Regions from separate parts of the Homo sapiens genome. Here regions 2 and 3 are each linked to region 1. The links are contacts of gene promoters, found by promoter capture Hi-C in blood cells and fetal thymus (Javierre and others, 2016). All regions are on one chromosome and are shown on one strand. Each heading gives the region's core, a stretch centred on a gene start or on the middle of the fragment in contact. The rest is flanking DNA. Distances are from core to core; before and after follow the strand shown. Region 1 holds the start of GTF2B (general transcription factor IIB). Region 2 overlaps PKN2-AS1 (PKN2 antisense RNA 1). Region 3 overlaps PKN2 (protein kinase N2).

Evidence for each region. The method cuts DNA at HindIII sites, captures the fragments that hold promoters and counts their contacts. A CHiCAGO score of 5 or more calls a contact.
Region 2: a fragment that was not itself captured here is called in contact with the fragment with the promoter of GTF2B in region 1 in 1 of 17 cell types (neutrophils); the score reaches 5.6 in neutrophils.
Region 3: a fragment that was not itself captured here is called in contact with the fragment with the promoter of GTF2B in region 1 in 1 of 17 cell types (neutrophils); the score reaches 5.4 in neutrophils.

What each region holds. Positions count from the first base shown.
Region 1 is chr1:88,890,033-88,893,351 of GRCh38, reverse strand. It overlaps GTF2B (general transcription factor IIB), which reads left to right and starts at 1,785. Exons shown (of 7, transcript NM_001514.6): 1 at 1,785-1,869. The coding sequence starts at 1,853. RefSeq lists an enhancer at 1,500-1,609. The HindIII fragment of the contact is 16,776 bases long and covers 1-3,319 here.
Region 2 is chr1:88,651,238-88,654,556 of GRCh38, reverse strand. All of the region lies in intron 1 of PKN2-AS1 (PKN2 antisense RNA 1), which reads left to right. Among named protein-coding and RNA genes, the nearest start is that of PKN2, 31 kb to the left of the region's middle. The HindIII fragment of the contact is 3,212 bases long and covers 124-3,319 here.
Region 3 is chr1:88,732,050-88,735,368 of GRCh38, reverse strand. The region is part of intron 1 of PKN2 (protein kinase N2); the gene reads right to left. Among named protein-coding and RNA genes, the nearest start is that of PKN2-AS1, 49 kb to the right of the region's middle. The HindIII fragment of the contact is 2,215 bases long and covers 579-2,793 here.

The DNA.
Region 1 (3,319 bases), core at 536-3,035:
TCTTCTAAGTTCTCAGCCCCATGAAAACCACCATGAAAATACCAATCCCCGTATTTTCAAGAATAGTTGTCAGCAAAGTGTTGCCGCAGGAGAATACTGTCTGAAGGCAGGGAACCTAAGGCAGATTCACACTGATTTCCTAGAACTAAATCAAATGGAAAACCCCGGCCGGGCGCGGTGGCTCACGCCTGTAATCCCAGCACTTTGGGAGGCCAAGGCGGGCGGATGACGAGGTCAGGAGATCAAGACCATCCTGGCTAACAGGGTGAAACCCCGTCTCTACTAAAAATACAAAAACAAAATTAGCCGGGCGTGGTGGCAGGCTCCTGTAGTCCCAGCTACTCGGGAGGCTGAGGCAGGAGAATGGCGTGAACCTGGCAGGCGGAGCTTGCAGTGAGCCCAGATCGCGCCACTGCACTCCAGCCTGGGCGACAGAGCAAGACTCCGTCTCAAAAAAAAAAAAAAAAAAGGAAAACCCCAACTTTCCACACCTAAGTAACAAAAGAACCAGACGTTACTCCCTTTGCAACCCCCTCCCCACTACACAACCACACACACACACACACACACACACACACACACTTTAGCCGTGTGGCAGATGTGAAATTGAAAGTATCTCTGATTCGTTGCTTTCTGCAACCAATCAGACGCTTGCATAGGAGTGTAACTTTGTAACTTCACTTTAGCCTCTGATTGGTTGCTTTCCACAACCAATCAGACTGATTGTGGAGCCACTACTTCATTTACATAGGGTGTACACCATGTAACCAATGGGAAACCTCTAGAGGGTATTTAAACCCCCGAAAATTCTGCAAAAGGAGTCTTGAGCTGGTATTACCTTTTCGTTTTCAATAAATCTCTGCCTTTATTCCTTCATTCTTTCCTTAGTTTGTGCGTTGTGTCCAGTTCTTTGTTCAAAACGCCAAGAACGTGAATACTCTCCACCGGTAACTGTTATTGTTGTTAGTAATAGTGGTATTACAATTTTGACGTTAGTTTGGCTAATTAATAAATCTAGGGATATTTTGCAATATCTAGATGTTCTCGCAAGTTTTCTATATGTAGCTATCAGCCAACGTTACAAAGGCCGTGAAAAAAAAATGATCAGAGCATGGCCCATATCGTCGTGCCTCTTGTGTACACATTGGTTTCACGTAGTTTTGTTTCATCTTCTGCCAATTCTAAAAGGGTATGCAAGGCAAGATACCATAACCTATATAAACTTACATGACCTGTATAAAGGACGTGCCTAAGAAGACAACATGCTAGCTGATGACAGATCCTGAACAGACACCTGTTCTGGATGACCTAAGTGAGTTTCTCCTTTTATTTCAAATTTCTTAGAAAGAATCACCCTTGGGGCACGTAAGAACTGGCTCAAATGGGAGTGCCTGACGCGGGGTGGGGGGCTGGGGGCGGGGTAGGTGGTGGCCGTGAGAAGGTAGCCGTGAGAAGGTGGGAGAGGAAGGGGTGGTTAAACTATTAGGGATGCAGGCTTTGGCACCACTACGAAGCCAGGGTTTTCTTTGTGTTTTAACTGTCAGATTGAGAGTAGCTCTGTTGTAGCCCCTTTGCAGGGTTCCCATGAGACTTTTCCTAGGTAGTTACGTTGACTCGCTTAGCAACATAGCAAATTACAGAAACGGAGTAAGAACGTAAGAAATCGCAAAGCACGTGACGTATGGGATCTCACTGTTCTTGGCCCTTCTCCCGACCCGTAGCCCTGCTCTGCTACGACTGCGTGGGTGAGTCGTCTATAAAAACTCATCTCTGCGCGTCTCTTCGCCACATTCGCTTCCTGCTTTCGGTGTGTCTGTTGTGTCTTGTTGCGGGCACCGCAGTCGCCGTGAAGATGGCGTCTACCAGCCGGTTAGTATGTCCCGCCGAGCCCGGCGAGCTGAGGGGCGGGCGCGAGCGCCGCCGGCTTTTAGGCGGCCTCCGGGCAGCCTCGTAGGGCTGAGCGCCTAGGGGTATGGGAGAGAAGCGGCGGGACTGGCCGACGGGCCGGGACAAAGGCACTTCCAGACGGCAGGACTGTCAGGGTGTCGCAGGGGTTACCGAGCTGTTGACGTTATTGCCCTGGAGTCTTATGTAGATATCACCCTATGTGGGTCCTGGTGGGCTACTGTGTCCCCAGTCCTTGCCCTCGTATCTTTTCCCAATATTTCAATCTCCCTTTATTTTCTCTTCTTCCCACCCTCCCTCCTCTCCTCCCCCGCGCCCCCCCCCCCGCTTGTTTTTTTCATCTACGGCCCAAACAACCCGAGGGTCCGTAATTTCTCCTTTTCAAAGGAACGGGAAACAGTTAGTTTCAGGTTCCTATCGATCTGACAGCTAGGAAGTTGGGAACGTCAGCATTGGTAAGCCAGATGGAACCTGGTTGGTTACCATCACAGCGGGCCTCGGAAGTGGAAGCTAGAGCCATCGGAAGAGTTGATTAGTTCCCTGCTAAAGGATTTGTTTACAAATATCGTTGCCTGTGTACTTCTGAAGAAAATCTTGCCAAAGAAAATTAGTTATATGTGCTGGGAGGTCGCTTTTTAGTATATATTTAAGAATGCAGTGTACTCATATCTACAGGAAATGCATGCAGTACCCTCAGAAACAGCCTTTAATCTTGTGACCTGAAAAATGCTTGCAGACCCTAATTATGTCTCTCATTACCACTGTGAGGTAGATATTAGTATTTTTGCATAAGTGTAAACTGAGTCATGCCAATGTTGACTTTTCCAAGAGTCGTGTTAGAGTGTAGAGTCTAAGACAACCTGTTTCCTGTTATCCACACCTGGCCTTTGGTTAACTAATCCTGTGTTGAAAGTATCAAATTAATTCTACAGCTTCTGGAACTCTGGCACTATTTTTCTGACCCTGCTATCATCTGTGGAATTGGTTAATTTCACAGTGAAAGCCATTTTTACAAAATAGCCTTTTCTGGTAACTGCCAAGACTTACATTTTATGATTAGAAAAGGAATTTGGGGTGGGAGGCAGCTTTAGCTAATATACTGTTTGAACAGAACTCATAAAGCCAGTGACACTCTTGTTTACTGATTCTGATTCTTGGATTGGATGCTCAGTCATTCTATCTGGGTGTTGTTCTGTCGGGTAAGGCCTCCTTGTAGGTAAATGGAAAACTTGGGCTCCCCAGATCACTCAAATACGACTTAAAATTCTACCATGGCTTTTTTTTTTTTTAATTCTATCATGGCTTTTTAAGTCTGAAATTTTTTTCTAGATATGTGCAATTTATGTATCATAGCAGTTATTGCTCAAGTTTTTCTATCAGTGACAACAAAGAAAGTTAAATGCAGTATTTTTTA
Region 2 (3,319 bases), core at 480-2,979, 240 kb after region 1:
TTTTTGGAAGGGTGTCAGCCATGAAAATACCTTTTTTTCCAGGATCTAATTGCAGATTACCTTAAACATATCAGAAAGCTTAAAAACATTGACCGTGGAGCCAGAATTCCCAGTTTTAAAGCTTATCTCTACCAATTTGTTAGTTGAATAACTTTGGGCAAATTATTGACTTCCGTGAGCCAGTTTTTATACATTTGTAAAAGCGAAATAAAAGAAGCTATCTTAAAAGTTGTTCTGCAAAGTATATGAACTAATATGTATAAAGTATTAATAGCTGGAATACTGCTTGGTGTGTAGTAAGTACTGTGTAAGGGTTACTTGTTACAGAGTCATTATCTGTGGATGCTCATTATTCTGTGGAGGATGAAATATTGTATCCAAATTCAACATAGGAAGAGACTTATTCTTTGCCTTTCATCCTTTTGTGGTATCTTTATATACACTTTTTTCTTTCTTTTTCTTTTTTTTTTTTCCAAGATGGAGTCTTGCTCTGTCACCCAGGCTGGAGTGCAATGGTGTGATCTCGGCTCACTACAAGCTCCGCCTCCCGGGTTCAAGTGATTCTCTTGCCTCAGTCTCCTGAGTATCTGGGATTACAGGCACCCACCATCATGCGTGGCTAATTTTTGTGTTTTTGTAGAGATGGAGTTTCACCATGTTGGCCAGGCTGGTTCTTGAACGCCTGACCTCAGGTGATCCACCCGTCTCTGCCTCTCAAAGTGTTGAGATTACAGGCATGAGCCAGTGGGCCCGGCTTATACTCTTTTCTTGACTCTGGTCTTGAATTTTCTTTGCCTCTTCCCAGCCTTTTACTTCCAATTTTTCTTCTTAGATGGTACTGTCCACTTCAGAAACTCTTTTCTCCTATTAATACACTTTTCTCTAACCTTTTCAATTCTTCATGTCAAGGACATGAAGTACGTCTGTTCTATACGTGTTTCCAATGCCTTGCATGGAGCTATAGTAGGTGTTCAATAGACACGCATAAGTGAAGTACACAGAAAAACCAGCTTGCAGCCAGTGGCTCACGCCTGTAATCCCAGCACTTTGAGAGGTCAATGTGGGCAGATCATGAGGTCAGGAGTTCAAGACCAGCCTGGACAAGATGGTGAAACCCTGTCTCTACTAAAAATACAAAAATTAGCCGGGTATGGTGGTGGGCACCTGTAATCCTAGCTACTCAGGAGGCTGAGGCAGAGAATTGCTTGAGCCTGGGAAGCAGAGGCTGCAGTGAGCCGAGATTGCGCCACTGCCTCCAGCCTGGGAGACAGAGTGAGACTTAGTCTCAAAAACAAACAAACAAACAAAAACAAACAAACAACAAAAAATTAAAACCAGCTTGCATTTGCACCTGAAGTTTGTGATTGTCTCTGAAAAGAATGCCTACAATTATAACAATTATTTTTATTTACTTAGCAATCATAAATGCCAGGCACTGTACTACGGATTTCATGTAGCATGATCTCATTTAATGGCATCAGCAATTTTTGGGGGCGGGGGTGGAATCCTGTTAGTTTCTTTTAAAAACGTTTTAATTGACAAATAAAAACTATGTATTTATTATGTACAACATCATTTTGAAATATGTATATTTTGTGAAATGACTAAATCAAGCTAATTAACATATGCATTACATCACACATTTTTTGTGCGTGTGTGGTAGGAACACTTAAAAGCTACCCTCTAAGCAATTTTCAAGAATACAATACCTTGTTATTAACTATAGTCATCATATTGTACAATAGATCTTTTGAACTTATTCCTGCTGTCTAACTGAAATTTTATATCCTTTGACCAACATCTTCCCCCCTACTCCCCACCCCCAGCCTTTGGTAACCACCATTATACTGTCTACTTCTATGAGTTCAACTTTTTTACATTCTACATATGAGATCTTATGCTATTTGTCTCTGATTGCCTGGCTTATTTCACTTAATGTCCTCCAGGTTTATTTATCCATGTTGTGGCAAATGACAGGATTTCCTTCTTTTAAAAGGGTGAATAGGATTACATTGTGTATATGTACCACAGTTTTTTGGTATATTCATCTGTTGATGGACACTTAGACTGATTCTCTTAGTTATTATAAATAATGCTTCAGTGAACATGGGAATACAGATGTTTCTTAGGCTTATTCCCTATCTTAACTATTATAAATAATACTGCAATGAACATGGAAGTGCAGCTATCCCTTCAATATACTGATTTCCTTTCCTTTGGGTACATAACCAGTAGCGGGATTGCTAGATCCCTATTAGTTTCAATTTACAAATCAGGCAGTTGAGTTTCAGAAAATATAAATTACATGCCCAAAGTGTCATTTGCTAATGACCAAAGCATCTTTCTTCTGAAAGAGCCCCCTATTTGTTATTGGAGACTGCCTTCATTTTTTTATTCCTCTTAATATGTTGGATGCAGCTATAGTTTTTTGGTCTACTATCTCTTGCCAGGCAAGCACGTTTGCTGAACTTCCCTAGAGAACTACACATTTGAGAGGTTACGAGTTCAAATACTATGGGAGCCATACAGAGAACATAAGGAGTGAGGTATACCAAGTATTTTTTGTATGAGGGGTACGGACTGTGTCTACATGGGAGCAGTTCTAACTTAACTCCAGCCGAATATAGTCAGCAGAAAAACAGACCAAATGTTGACATACATTCTGATTTTTCAAGAGCAGCCGGATATCTTGAGTTTTATGGGTAACCTCTGAATTCCAAACCTGAAATTTAAGTATTGTCTCAAAGTAAGAATCTTATATAGGCCACATAGAATAGGCCTGTAGGCCATATCTAGCCCTTGGGCACCTATACACTAAAAACAGTGGAGGCCCTGGTTCCTCTAACTCTGAAACTAAGCTCCAGGCCCAATGACAGGGACAAGCATAAGCTGCAAATAGTTGTCATCAGCCTAGGGGATGCATGTGCATATGAGGAGCAGAGGTTTCTCCATCAGCAAATAAGTTGTTGTGCAGTTTTTTTTTTCTTCTTTTTGATGCTGTCTCTTGACTGGGAGCTTGATAATTCCTATTGTTAGCAAACTCAAGCAAGCGCTTGACTTGGAATACCTCCCTGTCTCTTTAGGTTTCCTAAATAAGCACTTTTTATTTTAATTCTCTGTGAAGAAAAACAACTGTGCATAGTAATTCATTCAATGGGGTGAGAGATTGAATATAAATAACTGAATCTCTTAGAAGGTTAAATTTAAAAAGAACCCCACTGAAACAGAGAGAGAGAGAGAGAGAATATAGACCATCATTCTGGTTCTAGCCACCAAGTCTAGCAGATTGGCTTTCTTCTAATCTACATAATCCTCTAGT
Region 3 (3,319 bases), core at 437-2,936, 160 kb after region 1:
GCATACCAAGACTTTGACTCTACTAAAAATGAAAATTAAAAAATCAGCTGGGTGTGGTGGCGTGTGGCTGTAGTCCCAGATACTTGGGAGGCTGGGGTGGGAGGATCATTCAAGTCCATGAGATCAAGACTGCAGTGAGCCATGATCGCACCACCGCCCTCTAGCCTGAAGGACAGAGTGAGACCCTGTCTCGAACATACAAGCAAACAAAAAATGCTAAAAACAGTTCTTTAAATGAAGAAAGAGACTCTAATGTGTAACAAGAAAACATCTTAAAGGTATAAAACTCACTAGTAAGTATACTGGAAGATGGAATACTATAATACTATAAATGTGATACATAAAGCACTTGTATCTTTAATATGAAGGCTAAAAGACAAAACTATTAAATAATAACTATTTTAATTTGCCAAGAGATGGGTAATATAAGATGTAAAATGGGACATCAAAAATTACAAATGTGGGAGAAAATGGAGTTAAAAGTAGAGTTTGCTTTTTCTTTCTTTTCCTATCTTTACAATCAAAGTTGGGTTGCTATCAGTTTCAAATATCTCATTTTAAGATTTTTTTCATAAGCTTCATGGTAACTGCAAAGCAAAAACCTATAAGAAATACACCAAAAATAACAGGGAAACCATCAAAACACATTACTAGAGAAAATCACCTAACCATAAAGAAAGACAACAAGAGAACATAAATAGCCAAAGTAATCTAAAGCAAAAAGAACAAAGCTGGAGGCATCATACTACTTGACTTCAAAACACATTACATAGCTATAGTAATCAAAATAGCATGCTACTGGTATAAAAAAGACACACAAATCAATGGAACAGAAGACAGTCCAGAAATAAATCATCTATCTACAGTTTATTAATTCTTGACAAAGGGGCCAAGTACACTCAATGGGAAAAGGGCAACAAGTGGTGTTGGGAAAACTGGATATCCACATGAGAGAATGAAATTAGATTCTTATCTCTCACCACAGACAAAACTCAACTCAAAATGGATTAAAGACTTAAATGTAAGACCCCAAACTACAAAATCACAAGAAGAAAATATGGAGGAAATATAGGGGAAAGCTCCATGTCACTGGTCTAGGCAAGAATATTTTGGACAAAACCTGAAAAGCATGGGCAACAAAAGCAAAAACAGTTTGAGCATTCTAAATCCAAAACTCTAAAACGCTCCAAATTTTTTTTTTTTTTTTTTAAAGATAGGGTCTCACTCTGTTACCCAGGCTGGAGTGCAGTGGTACAATCATTGCTCATTAGCAACCTTGAAACATTGAGCTCAAGTGATCCTCCCACCTTAGCCTCCCAAGTAGCTAAGACTACAGGTGGGCTCCACTATGCCTAGCTAATTTTTATCTTTTGTAAAGACAGGGTCTTGCTACATTGCCCAGGCTGGTCTTGAACTGATGGCATCAAGTGATCCTCCTGCCTTGACCCCCCCAAATTGTTGGGATTATAGGCGTGAGCCACTATGAAACCTTTTGATTGCCAACATGATACTCGAACTAAATGCTTATTGGAACGTTTTGAATTTTCAAAATTTGATTTGGAATGCTCAACCACTAAGTATAATGCAAATATTCCAGAACCTGAAAAAATCCCAAATCCAAAACACTCTGGTTGTAAGCATTTCAGATACAGGATATTTAACCTGTATAGACAAATGGAATTGTATCAAACTAAAAATCTTCTGCATAGTAAAGGTAACAATCAACAGAGCAAGGATGCCAGTCATAGACTGGGAGAACACATTTACAAACTACACAACTGATAAAGGGTTAATACCCAAATATAAAGAACTCAAACACTCAATAACAAACAAATAACCTGATCAAAAAATGGGCAAAAGGCCTACATAGACATTTCTCCAAAAAAAGAACATACAAACAACCCACAGGTGTATGAAAAAATGTTCAACATCACTAATCATCAAAAAATGCAAGTCAAAACTATAATGAGATATCACATCACTCTAGTTAGAATAGGTACTCTCAAAAAATCAAAAGATAGCAGGTGTTGATGAGGGTATGGATAAAAGGGAACCCTTATACACTGCTGGTGGGAATGTATAGCCATTATGGAAAACAGCATGAAGGCTACTCAAAAAATTTTAAACAGAACTACCACATGATCCGATAAATCCCACTACTGGGTATATATATCCAAAGAAAATGAAATCAGTATGTTTTACAGATATCTGCACTCCTATGTTTATTACAGCATTATTCACAATAGCCAAGATATGGAATCAACCTAAATGTCTATCAAAGAGAATAACTATTTTTATGTTTCTTGTTACATATTCCCAACTTTTTTGTACCCATTAACCCATCCTTCCCTACCCGTTTTTCCCTGCTCCCCTCTCGTCCTCTCATAACTACCATTCTACTCTCTACCTCTATGAGAACAACCTTTTAGATTCCACCTATGAATGAGATCATGTGGTATTTGTCTTTCTGTGCCTGGCTTAGTGTCCTCTAGGTACATTCACGTTGTCTGAAATGACAAGATTTCATTATTTATGACTGAATAATATTCCATTGTGTATATATACTATATTTTATTTATCCACTTACAAGACTTCATTTAAAAAGTTGGGAATATAAAACAAGAAATTTAAAAATAGTGTTTCTCTTTGACATAGAATTATAAAACTCAAGAAATCTAACCTAAGATAATAATTAGAAATTTTTGTTATATAGAATGGTCAATTCAATAATTTTAAAATTAATAATATGTTCAATGCACTGTATTGGGCACAGACAGACTCCCTTATAAAGCTTACAAATATCAGGGCTTTAAACCAACTTTAGAAAAGAGAAAGTTCAAGATGCTACCTAAGTGTCATAACAAAAGAATTTCAAGTCAGCTAGCGAATAAAGAAAGGTTTCCCTTATTTGTGCCCTTGATTAGTTAACAGCAGTATATGCAGCTGATATACTGCTGTGTAAACACACTTTTATTTCAAGTTATGTTAAAAATAAGAACTTTAAAAATAGAGGGAAAGATAAATTAAGAGGGATTTCCATTTTATTTTTCAAAGTTTTCCATGTTTTCTCTATTTTTTTGACAATAAAATTTTCTCCACTTCTTTTTTTAACCTTGCCTAATAAGGAAAAGACATTATTTAAAAGAAACCAAAAGAACCAAAAGTAATATTAACTTTATTTCAATTGTGGAAAATGTAAAAGCTTATAATCATATCTTATACTACATTATATCTGCTACTTAACCTTGCCACTTTCATTCAACACAATTCTACTACAAGGGACCAAACTACAGACTACACAGTACATTGTAATTAAATT